Linked DNA regions of Homo sapiens: region 1 is linked to region 2. The links are contacts of gene promoters, found by promoter capture Hi-C in human tissues and cell types (Jung and others, 2019). All regions are on one chromosome and are shown on one strand. Each heading gives the region's core, a stretch centred on a gene start or on the middle of the fragment in contact. The rest is flanking DNA. Distances are from core to core; before and after follow the strand shown.

The links. Contacts are between HindIII fragments. The study calls those that stand out against the background at their distance.
Region 1: a contact is called between a fragment that was not itself captured here and the fragment with the promoter of THOC2 in region 2, in 2 of the 25 tissues and cell types used here (adrenal gland and neural progenitor cells).

Annotation. Positions count from the first base shown.
Region 1 is chrX:123,780,873-123,787,956 of GRCh38, reverse strand. It overlaps the pseudogene CHCHD2P1. Among named protein-coding and RNA genes, the nearest start is that of THOC2, 51 kb to the right of the region's middle. RefSeq lists an enhancer at 2,957-3,136. The HindIII fragment of the contact is 6,704 bases long and covers 2,005-7,084 here.
Region 2 is chrX:123,729,871-123,736,628 of GRCh38, reverse strand. THOC2 (THO complex subunit 2) reads left to right here and starts at 3,577. Exons shown (of 39, transcript NM_001081550.2): 1 at 3,577-3,677. The coding sequence starts at 3,607. RefSeq lists an enhancer at 3,562-3,641. The HindIII fragment of the contact is 14,729 bases long and covers 1-5,726 here.

The DNA of each region.
Region 1 (7,084 bases), core at 4,107-6,606, 50 kb before region 2:
AGACAGAGTCTAGCTCTCTCACCCAGGCTGGAGTGCAGTGGCACAATCTTGGCTCACTACAGCCTCCACTTCCCAGGCTCAAGCAATTCTCCTGCCTCAGCCTCCCGAGTAGCTGGGATTACAGGTGCACGCCACCACACCCGGCTAATTTTTGTACTTTTAGTAGAGATGGGGTTTTACCATGTTGGCCAGGCTGGTCTAGAACTCCTGGGCTCAAACGATCCACCCGCCTCAGCATCCCAAAGTGCTAGGATTATAGGTGTGAGCCACTGTGCCCAGCCTTAAATTTTTGATTCGCAGTAGTCTTTCATATCTGCAATTGCTTGTTTAATTATATTTATGTTTTTCTCTGCTTTACTATTCTTGTCTTTTTTTTGGAGGATATTTATTTTCATCAGCTGAAAAGTTCTGGTTCTTGCTTTTTTACCCCCTTATAGTAATTCTGTGAAGATAATCATTTTCTGATTATTGTAAAGTATCCTGGATTTTCCTGATTCGGTGATAATGTTTTGATTGATTCTATATGAAGAAAAGGATTCAGATACCTTATTTGGTTTATTGGCTCAAGAGCACCCTCTTCTGTTGATACAATAAAGTATAGTGTCTCTAATAAATTATACTTTTGGAGGGAAGGATCATTTGATCTTCTGAATGCTATTCCTCCAATGGCTACTTCTTCATGTCTTGCCTTCACAAGACTACTGTCTCTTGTACTGTGCAATTTTTAGGCTTCTTCCTTTTTTTTTTTTTACGCATCTTTCTTTCTTTCTTTTTGAGATGGAGTCTTTCTCTGTTGCCCAGGCTGGAGTGCAGTGGCACGATTATGGCTCACTGCAAACTCTGCCTCCCAGATTCAAGTGATTCTCCTGCCTCAGCCTCCTGAGCAGCTGGGACTACAGGCGTGCACCACCAGGCTCAGTTAATTTTTGTATTTTTAGTACAGACGGGATTTCACCATGTTGTCCAGGCAGGTCTTGAACTCTTGACCTCAGGTGATCCACCTGCCTCAGCCTCACAAAGTGCTGGGATTTCAGGCGTGAGCCACTACACCCGGCCAACACATCTTTCAAATAACACCTTTCCGGCCAGGTGCAATGGATCACGCCCGTCATCCCAACACTTTAGGAGGCCGAGGTGGGTGGATCTTCTGAGGTCAGGAGTTCAAGACCAGCCTGGCCAACATGGTGAAACCTGTTCTCTACTAAAAATACAAAATTAGCCGGGCGTGGTGGCACATGCCTATAATCCCAGCTACTCGGGAGGCTGAGACAGGAGAATGGCTTGAACCCAGGAAGCAGAGGTTGCAGTGAGTTGAGATCGAGCCATTGCACTCCAGCCTGGGCAACAAGAGTGAAACTCTGTCTCAAAACAAAAACAAAAAACAAATAACGCCCTTCCTTTTGATTCTTAGTGCTCTGATCCATCAGGTCTCAAACTCGTTCTTAGTTTTAATTAGGGTGGGACTTTCTTCAGAGTGTGAACCCTATGTGGTATTATCATGAGAGAAGAGAAGACTCTTCTCTCACAATTTCTGCCTCATATTTCAAATAAATGGAACTATATAATATGTGGTCTTTTGTGACTGATTCTTTCACTTAGCATAATTTCTTTGAGATTCATCCATGTTGTAGCATGTATCAGTACTTCATTCTTTTATATGGCCAAATAATATTCCATTTAATGGAATAAGTGGAATATTTGGTATAAATATATCACATTTTGTTTATTCATTCATTAGTTGATGGACATGTAGATTGTTTCCATTTTTTCCAAAGTAGCTGGATTATTTCACATTCTCATCAACAATATGTAAAGTTTCCCATTTCTCCACATTCTCAGCAACACTTGTTATTGTCTTTTTTGGGCAAAGAAAATCACTTTATTCTAATTAACTCACAAACAAAACAAAACAAAAAAATTACAACAGCTGGTTTAAGGAGGCCACACAAACATTTGACACGCCCCAAATTCTATACTATCTTAATGAAATTCTACCAAATAAGAACACCCTCTTCTATTGCAATTCTGAAGCAAGAAAGTAATGAATGACAGAGGATTGGTTTCACTGACGGTTTTACACTTTATACCTTCACTATTAAATATATATTATATATATACTTTTTTTTTTTGAGACAGATTTTGCTCTTGTTGCCCAGGCTGGAGTGCAATAGCATGATCTCGGTTCACCACAACCTGCAGCTCCTGGGTTCAAGTGATTCTCTTACCTCAGCCTCCCGAGTAGCTGGGATTACAGGCATGCGCCAGCACGCCCGGCTCATTTTTCGTATTTTTTTTTTTTTTAGTAGAGACGGAGTTTCTCCATGTTGGTTAGGCTGGTCTCGCACTCCCCACCTCAGGTGATCCGCCTGCCTCGGCCTCCCAAAGTGCTGGGATTACAGGCGTGAGCCACCACGCCCGGCTATCAATTATGTTTTTATGCTAAATTAACTTAGTTGTGAGAGCTGATTTTCCATTTCTTCAATTTGAACTTCTTGATTAGATAAATCCATTTGCAAGTCTGCACTGTTTCACCACCTCATGGAAACCCTCACAGAACTTTATGTCTCCCTGATTCTGGGCACATTCCAAAAACCATTTTATCTCATACAAGAAAGCCTACTGCTGCTGTGCCGGGTGGGTTCCCTGAGGCTTCTGGTAAGTGATGTCACCACTTGGGGGCTCAGCATTATTTACTCCACTGAAGCTCCCACTGATGGCATGACCCAGTATGTGCCCCACAGCAGAGTCCACAGCCATGCCAGCTGCAGTGATTGCCGCCCGGGCCATCAGACCTGGCTGCCGCGGAGTGCAGCAGCAGGAGAGCCAGCTGCAGAGGGTGGGGCTGCTGCTAGTGGCTGAGCTGCTGGTGCTGGCCTGGGTGTAGTTCTTATCTGAGGTTCTCAGCTGGCTAGAGGGGCCACGTGGGAGGTGCAGTTTCAGCTTCCACGTGACGTTGCAAATGTGCTGCGGCTCAGCGTCTAGACTTGTGAAACTCTATCTTTCTAAAATTATAGCCATTCTTCTGCATGTAAAATGGTATCTCGTGGTTTTGGTTTGCATTTCCTTAGTGATTAGTGATGTTGAACATCTTTATTTTATTTAGTCATTTATTTTTGAGATGGAGTTTTGCTCTGTCACCCAGGCTGGAGTGCAATGGCTCAATCTCGGCTCACTGCAACCTCGGCCTCCCAAGTTCAAGCGATTCTCCTGTCTCAGCCTCCCAAGTAGCTGGGATTACAGGCGCCCGCCACCATGCCAGGCTAATTTTTGTAGTTTTTAGTAGAGACAGCGTTTTGCCACGTTGGCCAGGCTGGTCTCAAACTCCTGACCTCAGGTGATCTGCCTGCCTCGGCCTCCCAAATTGCTGGGATTACAGGTGTGAGCAACCATGCCCAGCCTTATTTTTTGTTTTTATGTAGAGATAGTCTCACTATGTTGCCCAGGCTGGTCGTGAACTCCTGGGCTCAAGATATCCTCCCACGTTGGCAGCCCAAAGTGCTGGGATTATAGATGTGGGCCACCACGTCTGGCCCTGAATATCTTTAAATGTCTTTATCAGCCATTTGTATATCTTCTTTGAAGAAATGTCTACTTAAGCCCTTTGCTGTCCCCGCATCCGCCAACTTTTTTTTTTTTTTTTTTTTGAGTAGGAGTCTCACTCTGTTGCCCAGGCTGGAGTGCAATGGGGCAATCTCAGCTTACTGCAACCTCTGCCTCCTGGGTTCAAGCAATTCTCCTGCCTCAGCCTCCCGAGTAGCTGGGATTACAGGTACTGCCACCATGCCCGGCTAATTTTTGTATTTTTAGTAGAGACAGGGTTTCACCATGTTGGCCAGGCTGGTCGCTTTGGCCAGGCTGGTCTCGAACTCCTGACCTCCTGATCCCCCTGCCTTGGCCTCCCAAAGTGCTGAGATTACAGGCGTGAGCCACCGTGCCCGGCCCCTTTGCCCCTTTTTGAAAATTGGGCTTTTTTTTTTGGCTGGGCGTGGTGGCTCTCACCTGTAATCCCAGCACTTTGGGAGGCCAAGGTGGGCAGATCAAGAGGTCAGGAGATCGAGACCATCCTGGCTAACACGGTGAAACCCCATCTCTACTAAAAATACAAAAAATTAGCTGGGCGTGGTGGCAGGCGCCTGTAGTCCCAGCTACTCGGGAGGCTGAGGCAGGAGAATGGCGTGAACCTGGGAGGCGGAGCTTGCAGTGAGCTGAGATCGCACCACTGCACTCCAGCCTGGGTGACAGAGTGAGCCTCCGTCTCAAAAAAAAACAAAAAACAAAAAACAAACAAAAAAAAAAACAAAAAAACAAATTGGGCTTTTTTTTTTTTAAAGATTATTGAATGTTAAGGTTATACATTCTAGATAAAAGTCCCTTGTCAGATATATGGTTTGCAAATATTTTCTCCCATTCTGTAGGTTGTCTTTTTACTTTCTTGATGGTGACTTATGGTGTACAAAAATTTTAAATTTTTATGAAGCCCTATTTATCTATTTTTTTCTTTTGTCATTTGTGTTTTTGATGCTCTATCTAAGAAACTATTTCCTATCCCAGGATCACAAATATTTACTTCTATAATACTTCTATAATTTATTTTTGAATGCTAATTTTGTATCCAGCAATTTGCTAAACTCTCTAATTAATTATAATAATTTACTGTACTTTTTCTTTTTTCTTTTTCTTTTTTTCTTTTTTTTTTTTTTTTTTGAGACGAGGTTTTGCGCTTGTTGCCCAGGCTGTAGTGCAATGGCACAATCTCAGCTCACTGCAACTCCTGCCTCCCGGGTTCAAGGGATTCTCCTGTTTTAGCCTCCCAAGTAGCTGGGATTACAGGCGCCCGCCATCAAGCCTGGCTAATTTTTTGTATTTAGTAGAGGAATTTCGCCATGTTGGTCATGCTGGTTTCGAACTCCTGACCTCAAGGGATCCATCCGCCTCTGCCTCCCAAAGTGCTGGGATTACAAGCATGAGCCACTGCGCCCAGCCCTAATCTTTAATATTTTTACCTTTAATTTTTTTATTTTTTATTGCTGTTTTGTGCCTAGTAAAATATTGAATAGAAATAGTGATAATGGATATCATTGTCTCATTCCTCATTAATAGGGGAAAGCTTTTAATATTTATTCTTTAAGTTTGATGCTTGCTTTAGGTTTCTTTTAAGATTAAGGAAATTCCATTTTGCTATTTTATAAGATTAAATAAATTCTACTTTATTACTACTGACAGTTTTTCTTTTTCTTTTTTGAGACAGGGTCTTGCCCTGTTGCCCAGCCTGGAGTGCAGTGGTACAAACATGGCTCATTGTAGCCTCAACCTCCTGGGCTCAAGTGATCCTCCTCCCACCTCAACCTCCCAAGTAGGTGGGACCACAGGCATGTGCCACCATACCTGGCTAATTTTTGTATTTTTAGTAGAGATGGGGTTTCACCATGTTGGCCAGGCTGGTCTCGAACTCCTGACCTCAGGTGATCCACCTGCTGCCTTCGCCTCCCAAAGTGCTGGGATTACAGGCGTGAGCCAATGCGCCCAGCCAGTTGGTTTGTTTGTTTTCAAATCTGTAGTATCACCTTACAGTTTCTAATTCCTTAAGGAGTATTTAAATAGGGGTTTTAACAGTATCTAGAGTCATAGTGGATGGCAGATGTATTTGTATTGTCTGTTGTTTCTGATGCTTCTTGCTCAATCTTTGTTGTCTCTCACTGTGTGTCTCGTTATCTTTTTTCTTTTTTCTTTTGAGAGAGTCTCACTCTGTTGCCCACGATGGAGCGCAGTGGCTCAATCTCGGCTCACTGCAACCTCTGCCTCCTAGGCTCAAGCAATTTTCATGCCTCAGCCTCCTGAGTAGCTGGGACTGCAGGTGTGCTGGTCTTGAACTCCTGACCTCAAGTGAGCCACCTCCCCGGCCTCCTGAAAGTGCTGGGATTACAGGCACGAGCCACTGTGCCTGGCTCTGGTTATTTATTTATTTATTTATTTATTTATTTATTTATTTATTTTTTGAGACGGAGTCTCGTCCTGTTGTCCAAGCTGGAGTGCAATGGCACGATCTCAGCTTACTGCAACCTCCGCCTCCCGAGTTCAAATGATTCTCCTGCCTCAGCCTTTCAAGTAGCTGGGATTACTGGTACCCACCACCACGCCCAGCTAAATTTTGTATTTTTAGTAGAGACGGGGGTTTCACCATGATGGCCAGGCTGGTCTCGAACTCCTGACCTCGTGATCTGCCCACCTCAGCCTCCCAAAGTGTTGGGATTACAGGCGTAAGCCACCACATCTGGCCCCTGATTATCCTTAGTTATGTGTTGGATATCCTATTTGAAGAATTATTGTTATTATTATTATTGAGATGGAGTCTTGCTTTTGTCGCCCAGGCTGGAGTGCAGTGGCGCGATCTTGACTCACTGCAACTGCATCTCCTGGGTTCAAGCAATTCTCCTGCCTCAGCTTCCCGAATAGCTGGGATTACAGGTGCCTGCCAACATACCCAGCTAATTTTTGTATTTTTAGTAGAGATGGGGTTTCACCATGTTGGCCCGGCTGGTATCGAACTCCTTACCTCCGGTGACCCACCCGCCTTGGCCTTCCAAAGTGCTGGGATTACAGGTGTGAGCCGCTGTGCCCGGTCCTGAAGAATTATTTATAGAAATAATTTGAGACTTGGAATAATATTATCTTTTCCCAGAAAGGATTTTTTTGTTCCTTACCAAGTGCCTGGGGCACTAATAGTATGGGAAGAGTACGGGATTACCTTATTCCAAGTTTAAATCTTGGTATTTTGTGGGCCATTCAAATGATAAATCTGATCTATAGAGGTCATGAAGGCTAATTTACTTCTGGTTCGTCCTTACTACTAGGGTGTAGCTATCTAGTTTCCAAACCCAAAGCAGGGAACAGTACACCTTAGATTCCACCTTTTGTCCCCCAGCCCCATAAACCAACAAATGAGCAGCTCAGCTTCTCACATACCTCTTTGGAATGGTCAAACACCTTAAGGTTAAAAGCTATCCCTGCATGCTATGCTAACCTCTCTGGGTTTCTGGCCTCTCTCTAAGCTTGCCTTAGTCATGACTCACCTGAAAGCATTAGT
Region 2 (6,758 bases), core at 2,328-4,827:
TCAAAGGGCATCATTGCACTCAGGTCATACCACAAGTGTGACATACTGATTACTATGCATACTGCACAGTTCAATGTTTGGAAGAAGAAATCACTGTGATACGTGGCAAGGTAAGCCACAGTACAGGAGAATACTGTAGCTCAGTGGTTCTCAAAAGGGGACTGTTTTGCCCTCCAGGAGACATTTAGCAATGTCTGGAAACGGTTGTAATAACTGGTGTGGGTGTGTGTGTGTGTGTGTGTGTGTGTGTGTGTATGGGGGCTGCTACTGACATCTAGTGAGTCAAGGCCAGAGATGTTGCTAAACATTCTACAATGCAGAGGACCCCTGCCCCCTGGCCCCCATCCCCCCTATCCCCACAAAAAATTATCTGACCCAGGTTGAAAGTCCTTGCTGTAGACTACACAGAGAAGTATACATAAGTAGCAAGATAGTGCTTCTTGTATCACAGAAGCCGTCTTGTAATAATGACTTCAAAGTTTTCCAGGAAGGATGATGGTACATGAAGATTCACTGTATCATTCTGTTTGCTTTGTATACATTTTAAATTGTCCATAATAAGGAAACATGAAAAGATTAGAGGGCACTTCTATATTTGATCCTCCTCAAAACGGCAGAAGGTTTTTACAAGCAGAAATCACTGAAGTTAATAGGTGGATATTTTCTAGTGGGTGGCTTTAGAATTTCAAAGTGAGACAGGACACTAGAAGACTAGATACAGCTGGTGAAAAACAATCATAAACAATGGAGCATTTTCCCAGAACCAGTTCTGAATACAGCACATAACTTAAATAGTTTTTCAATGCAAATGAACCTGGTTCATTTGACAAAACTTGCCATATTTAGAAGATACTAGCTCTAAAGTTCATATGTGGGGTAGGATTTCTTCATTTGGATTGTCTGTATTTTCTGCCAAACGTGTGTTTTTTTTTTTTTTAATTTTTTTATTATACTTTAAGTTATAGGGTACACGTGCACAACGTGCAGGTTTGTTACATATGTATACATGGGCCATGTTGGTGTGTTGCACCCATTAACTCGTCATTTACATTAGGTATATATCCTAATGCTATCGCCCCCCACCCCACAACAGACCCCGGTGTGTGATGTTCCCCTTCCTGTGTCCAAGTGTTCTCATTGTTCAATTCCCACCTATGAATGAGAACATGAGGTGTTTGGTTTTTTGTCCTTGTGATAGTTTGCTGAGAATGATGGTTTCCAGCTTCATCCATGTCCCTACAGAGGACATGAACTCATCATTTTTTATGGCTGCATAGTATTCCATGGTGTATATGTGCCACATTTTCTTTCTTTCTTTTTTTTTTTTTTTCTGTCAAGTCTGCTTTATTTAAGTCAATATTAGACCTGCTGTTCCTAAACAGAAATGCCCTGATGACAGAGGAGTGGGAGGGAAGCAGGCTCATGTGAGGGTGTGGGAAGGCCACTTGGCCCAAAATGTTTGCAAGAAATACACCAGGAAAAGCCTATTTTAATTCTCCTGCATTAGGAACTGCCCTGTGAGATTCCTGCAAAATAATCCTCCAGGCTCAGGACTATTCCTCTTCTCTTGTGCTAGACACATCTCTCTTCTGGAAAGTTTTCCTTCCTTTTTTTTTTTTTTTTTTCTGTTGACTTTTTTTTTTTTTTTTATTGATCATTCTTGGGTGTTTCTCGCAGAGGGGGATTTGGCAGGGTCATAGGACAATAGTGGAGGGAAGGTCAGCAGATAAACAAGTGAACAAAGATCTCTGGTTTTCCTAGGCAGAGGACCCTGCGGCCTTCTGCAGTGTTTGTGTCCCTGGGTACTTGAGACTAGGGAGTGGTAATGACTCTTAACGAGCCTGCCGCCTTCAAGCATCTGTTTAACAAAGCCCATCTTGCACCGCCCTTAATCCATTTAACCCTGAGTGGACACAGCACATGTTTCAGAGAGCGCAGGGTTGGGGGTAAGGTCATAGATCAACAGGATCCCAAGGCAGAAGAATTTTTCTTAGTACAGAACAAAATGAAAAGTCTCCCATGTCTACCTCTTTCTACACAGACACAGCAACCATCCGATTTCTCAATCTTTTCCCCACCTTTCCCCCTTTTCTATTCCACAAAACCGCCATTGTCATCATGGCCCGTTCTCAATGAGCTGTTGGGTACACCTCCCAGACCGGGTGGTGGCCGGGCAGAGGGGCTCCTCACTTCCCAGTAGCGGCGGCCGGGCAGAGGCGCCCGTCACCTCCCGGACGGGGCGGCCGGCCGGGCGGGGGGCCGACCCCCCCACCTCCCTCCCGGACGGGGCGGCCGGCCGGGCGGAGACGCTCTTCACCTCTCAGACGGGGCGGCTGCCGGGCGGAGGGTCTCCTCACTTCTCAGACGGGGCGGCCGGGCAGAGACGCTCTTCACCTCCCAGACGGGGTCGCGGCCGGGCAGAGGCGCTCCTCACATCCCAGACGGGGCGGCGGGGCAGAGGCACTCCCCACATCTCAGACGATGGGCGGCCAGGCAGAGACGCTCCTCACTTCATCCCAGACGATGGGCAGCCGGGCAGAGACGCTCCTCACTTCCTAGACAGGATGGCGGCCGGGCAGAGACGCTCCTCACTTTCCAGACTGGGCAGCCAGGCAGAGGGGCTCCTCACATCCCAGACGATGGGCGGCCAGGCAGAGAGGCTCCTCACTTCCCAGACGGGGTGGCGGCCGGGCAAAGGCTGCAATCTCGGCACTTTGGGAGGCCAAGGCAGGCGGCTGGGAGGTGGAGGTTGCAGCGAGCCGAGATCACGCCACTGCACCCCAGCCTGGGCACCATTGAGCACTGAGTGAACGAGACTCCGTCTGCAATCCCGGCACCTCGGGAGGCCGAGGCTGGCGGATCACTCGCGGTTAGGAGCTGGAGACCAGCCCGGCCAACACAGCGAAACCCCGTCTCCACCAAAAAAATACGAAAAACAGTCAGGCGTGGCGGCGCGCACCTGCAATCGCAGGCACTCGGCAGGCTGAGGCAGGAGAATCAGGCAGGGAGGTTGCAGTGAGCCGAGATGGCAGTACAGTCCAGCTTTGGCTCGGCATCAGAGGGAGACTGTGGAAAGAGAGGGAGAGGGAGACCGTGGGGAGAGGGAGACGGGAGAGGGAGACGGGAGAGGGAGAGGGAGAAGGAGAGGGACCCGATTATTTTCTTTTATCTCAGCAGTCAGCAGGGCGTAATGTAATTTATTTGCTTATATTTATGGCTTTCCCAAAGACTATTATTTCTCTATTCCCAGTGTCTAGCACATATTAGGTGCTTGAAAAATGCGTGTTTGTATTAGTGGTTAGGGGTAGATATTACGGAAGAAGATGAAGTCTACTTGTTGGCCTGTGGATGGCATTTCTCTGTTCTAATGGGAAGTAAGGCCGAAGACTTCGGAGGGCGCAACCCGTGTAGTAACCTCGCAAAGGGGCCCGCGAGTCTCCACGTCGTTGGCTGCCTTGCCTCGGGTTTCCGCTGGGTGGAGAGGAAAGTGGGGCGGGAAATCGAAAAACGAACTCTCAGCTCCCGGCATTCCTCGTGGGCGGTGCTCCCCTTTGACCCTTCGCTCGCGTGCTACACATCCGGGCTTCTGCTACTAGTGAGAGGAAGATGGCGGCCGCGGCTGTGGTGGTTCCCGCAGAGTGGATAAAGAACTGGGAGAAATCAGGGAGAGGCGAATTGTGAGTGTTCGGGCCGGAGGCAGGCGCACTGCCGGGCCGGGCCAGGGCGTCAGCTGCACTCTCACCTGTAGTGGGAGGTTGAGGGGGAAAGATGTACCCCCTCCCCCACCCGGGCGGCGGGCGTGGATGGTCGTCTAGGAGTTTCGAACTCGGGGAGAGGTGCTGTTTACCGCCGCGGACCTCCTTCCTTCCCTGGCCTCCCAGAAATCGCTACTGCCTGCGGTAGCTCGGCTTCCTTTAGCCTCTTAGTAGAACTCTTATTCCGCCCCTGCAGGTCTCCGCGCTCCCTCTTGGTCTCTTTTTGTGTCCCCCTCTTCGCTTGATCTCACTTGGCTCCTTTATCTTTATGGGGCTGAGCCGGGGCAATTCGGACTTTCCATCTCTCTCTGTGCCATTTCTTCACTCTGCACCCGTTGGACTCCGCAGTTTGGAGCTTGGCGCCTCCTCTGCCTGAAGTCCAAGGAGGGCGAACCGTCCCGGATTCCCCTCCCCTCCTCTTCGCCCGCTGCCGCGAAGCCCGGGGCGCCGCGAAGAACCCGGTTTGGCACCTCTCGCCCTCCCGGGGAGCGGTCTCTCGACTGTCCCGGCCTCGCGTAGCGCCGTGGGGAAGTGTGGCAGGGATTGCCGCTTTCCCTGAAGAACCACCGACATTTCTTTGCTCCGTCTTTTCACCTTAGAGCTATTTCGGGTTGGATTCAACTTTCGTCATTAAATGTTCCCTAAACCCCATTTTATCCTGGGACTGCAACTAATTCTGGCAGCTCTCCAAGCTTCTCCAGTACCTAGGATAACGCGTTTCCTTTAGTCGTGAAACTTTCCCCCGTAACACCGAAAACAGTAATTTGCCATACCCCTAGTCTTCTCGCCCCCACGTTAGAGCGCTCCCTCCTCCCCTTCCCCTGGAAGGAGTCGTTTAAGCAGCAAAGCAAACCTCAGATATAAGAACAAATATTAATAACATCTCATTTCCTTCTCTGGGTCGCTTTTAGATGCTAAAGCTCAACCCTGGATGAAATTAACCCTCGTTAGCCATTTTTGTCGTCCTTGCCCACCCCTCTCCATTTCTAGTAGCCAGTTTACCGTGGCTCATGCTAAAGATTCAAATCTTTGTAACTTCGTTACTTGGAACGAAACACGAGGAACGCGTTGCCGGATCCCGCGCTTGTAATAGTGCCAGCCTATGTGGCTTCCTCCCCCGCACCCCCCGCACTGCTGTATGAAGTCTTAACAGTGTGAGCTCTAGAATTCCCTAAATAAGCGGCTGTCTTAGCCACTTAAGTAGCTGAGTGACCTTGGGTAAGTTCCTTAACCACTTGGACTGTTTCCCCTTGAGTAAATTGGGAATAATAAGTACTCTACTCAAAGGATTGTTGTGAAGACTAAATAATGCCTGTAAAGCACTTGGCTTATAGTAAGTGCTCAAGTGATAGCTATTAAAAGTAATATTATTCCAACCTTTAGATATTTAAACTTCTCAGGACAGCTCATGCACTTAAAGTCTGTACCACTCAGGTTAGCAATTAATTGGTCTCTGACTTATTCATGTGTGTTTATTCTTGCACTGTAATGAATTGGGAGGCCTTTGAAATATAGGGACTATGTCTCATATTTCTTTTGGTTTAACACATGCCCCGCCCCCCCAGCCTATGCTTAGAATGCTTATTGGTTTATTAATTGTCAGAGAAGGCTATTTGATAAATCTTCGTTTTTAACTATAATGAACATTTTACAAATCCTCGTATGTGCTAGTTAACAAATAGCTGTCAAGTTTGATAGCTAGTTGACAAATAGCCATCAAGTTTGGGGAAGGCAAGATGGGAAGTTACCCAGCCAGACCATCATCTTCATCGATATTAGGGTAATCCCCCAAAACTGATAAAAGCAGTTCATTGTTTTGTTTACTTTCAAAGCCAGCTCATTTATTTAGGGGCTGTTATGTTTGTAGATTGCTCAGCTTCCTCCTTTCAGCTACTGTTTTTTGACAGTTTTACTTTTTTTTTTCCCCCTTGAGACGGAGTCTCGCTCTGTCGCCCAGGCTGGAGTGCAGTGGCGCGATCTCGGCTCACCGTAACCTCCGCCTCCCACGTTCAAGCGATTCTCCTGTCTCAGCCTCCTGAGTAGCTGGGACTACAGGCGCGTGCTACCACGCCCGGCTAATTTTTTGTATTTTTACTAGACACGGAGTTTCACCGTGTTATCCAGGATGGTCTCCATCTCCTGACCTGGTGATCCGCCCACCTCGGCCTCCCAACAGTTTTACTATTATTGCTGCCACCTTAGCATGAGTGGTATTAGGGCTATAAGGTGAAATTCTGCTTGGCTTCTGACTGGTAATGGTTTGAGAAAAAGTGATGTAGGAGATCGAAATACTTAGATAAAATGGAATTTTAGGTTCACATTATGTATATTTACATAATACATGCTATCTGTCATAGTTCTTATGTTTGAAGAGCTGCTTAAAAACTGTTATTAGAAGCCGAGCGTGGTGGCTCACGCCTGTAATCCCAGCAAATTGGGAGGCCGAGGCGGGTGGATCACCTGAGGTCAGGAGTTCCAGACAAGCCTGACCAACATGGAGAAACCCCATCTCTACTAAAAGTACAAAATTTGCCGAGCGTGGTGGCACATGCCTGTAATCCCAGCTACTCAGGAGGCTGAGGCGGGAGAATCGCTTGAATCTGGGAGGCGGAAGTTGCGGTGAGCGGAGATCGCGCTGTTGCACTCCAGCATGGGTAACAAGAGCGAAACTCTTTAAAAAAAAAAAAAAAACAAAAACCCAAACAAAAACAAACCAAAAACAACAGCAAAAAAACCTGTTATTAGAACTTACGTGTATGTAGTTATTGCATGACTTGTGGAATGTGGATTGAATTATAGTAGATCCAAATCAGTATAGTCAGTTTTATGATTGCATTCTGTTACAGGAAGAGAATTTAAAATTGTGTAACATAATAAGCTATTTTAAATAGTTAAACACATCACCATCCAGTACTTAGTTTCAGTTTATTTGACCTGTTTTCCCTCTATGAAACTTTGTTGCATATAGCATGTCTTTGGAGTTTTTGTGTCTTCCTAAAGATA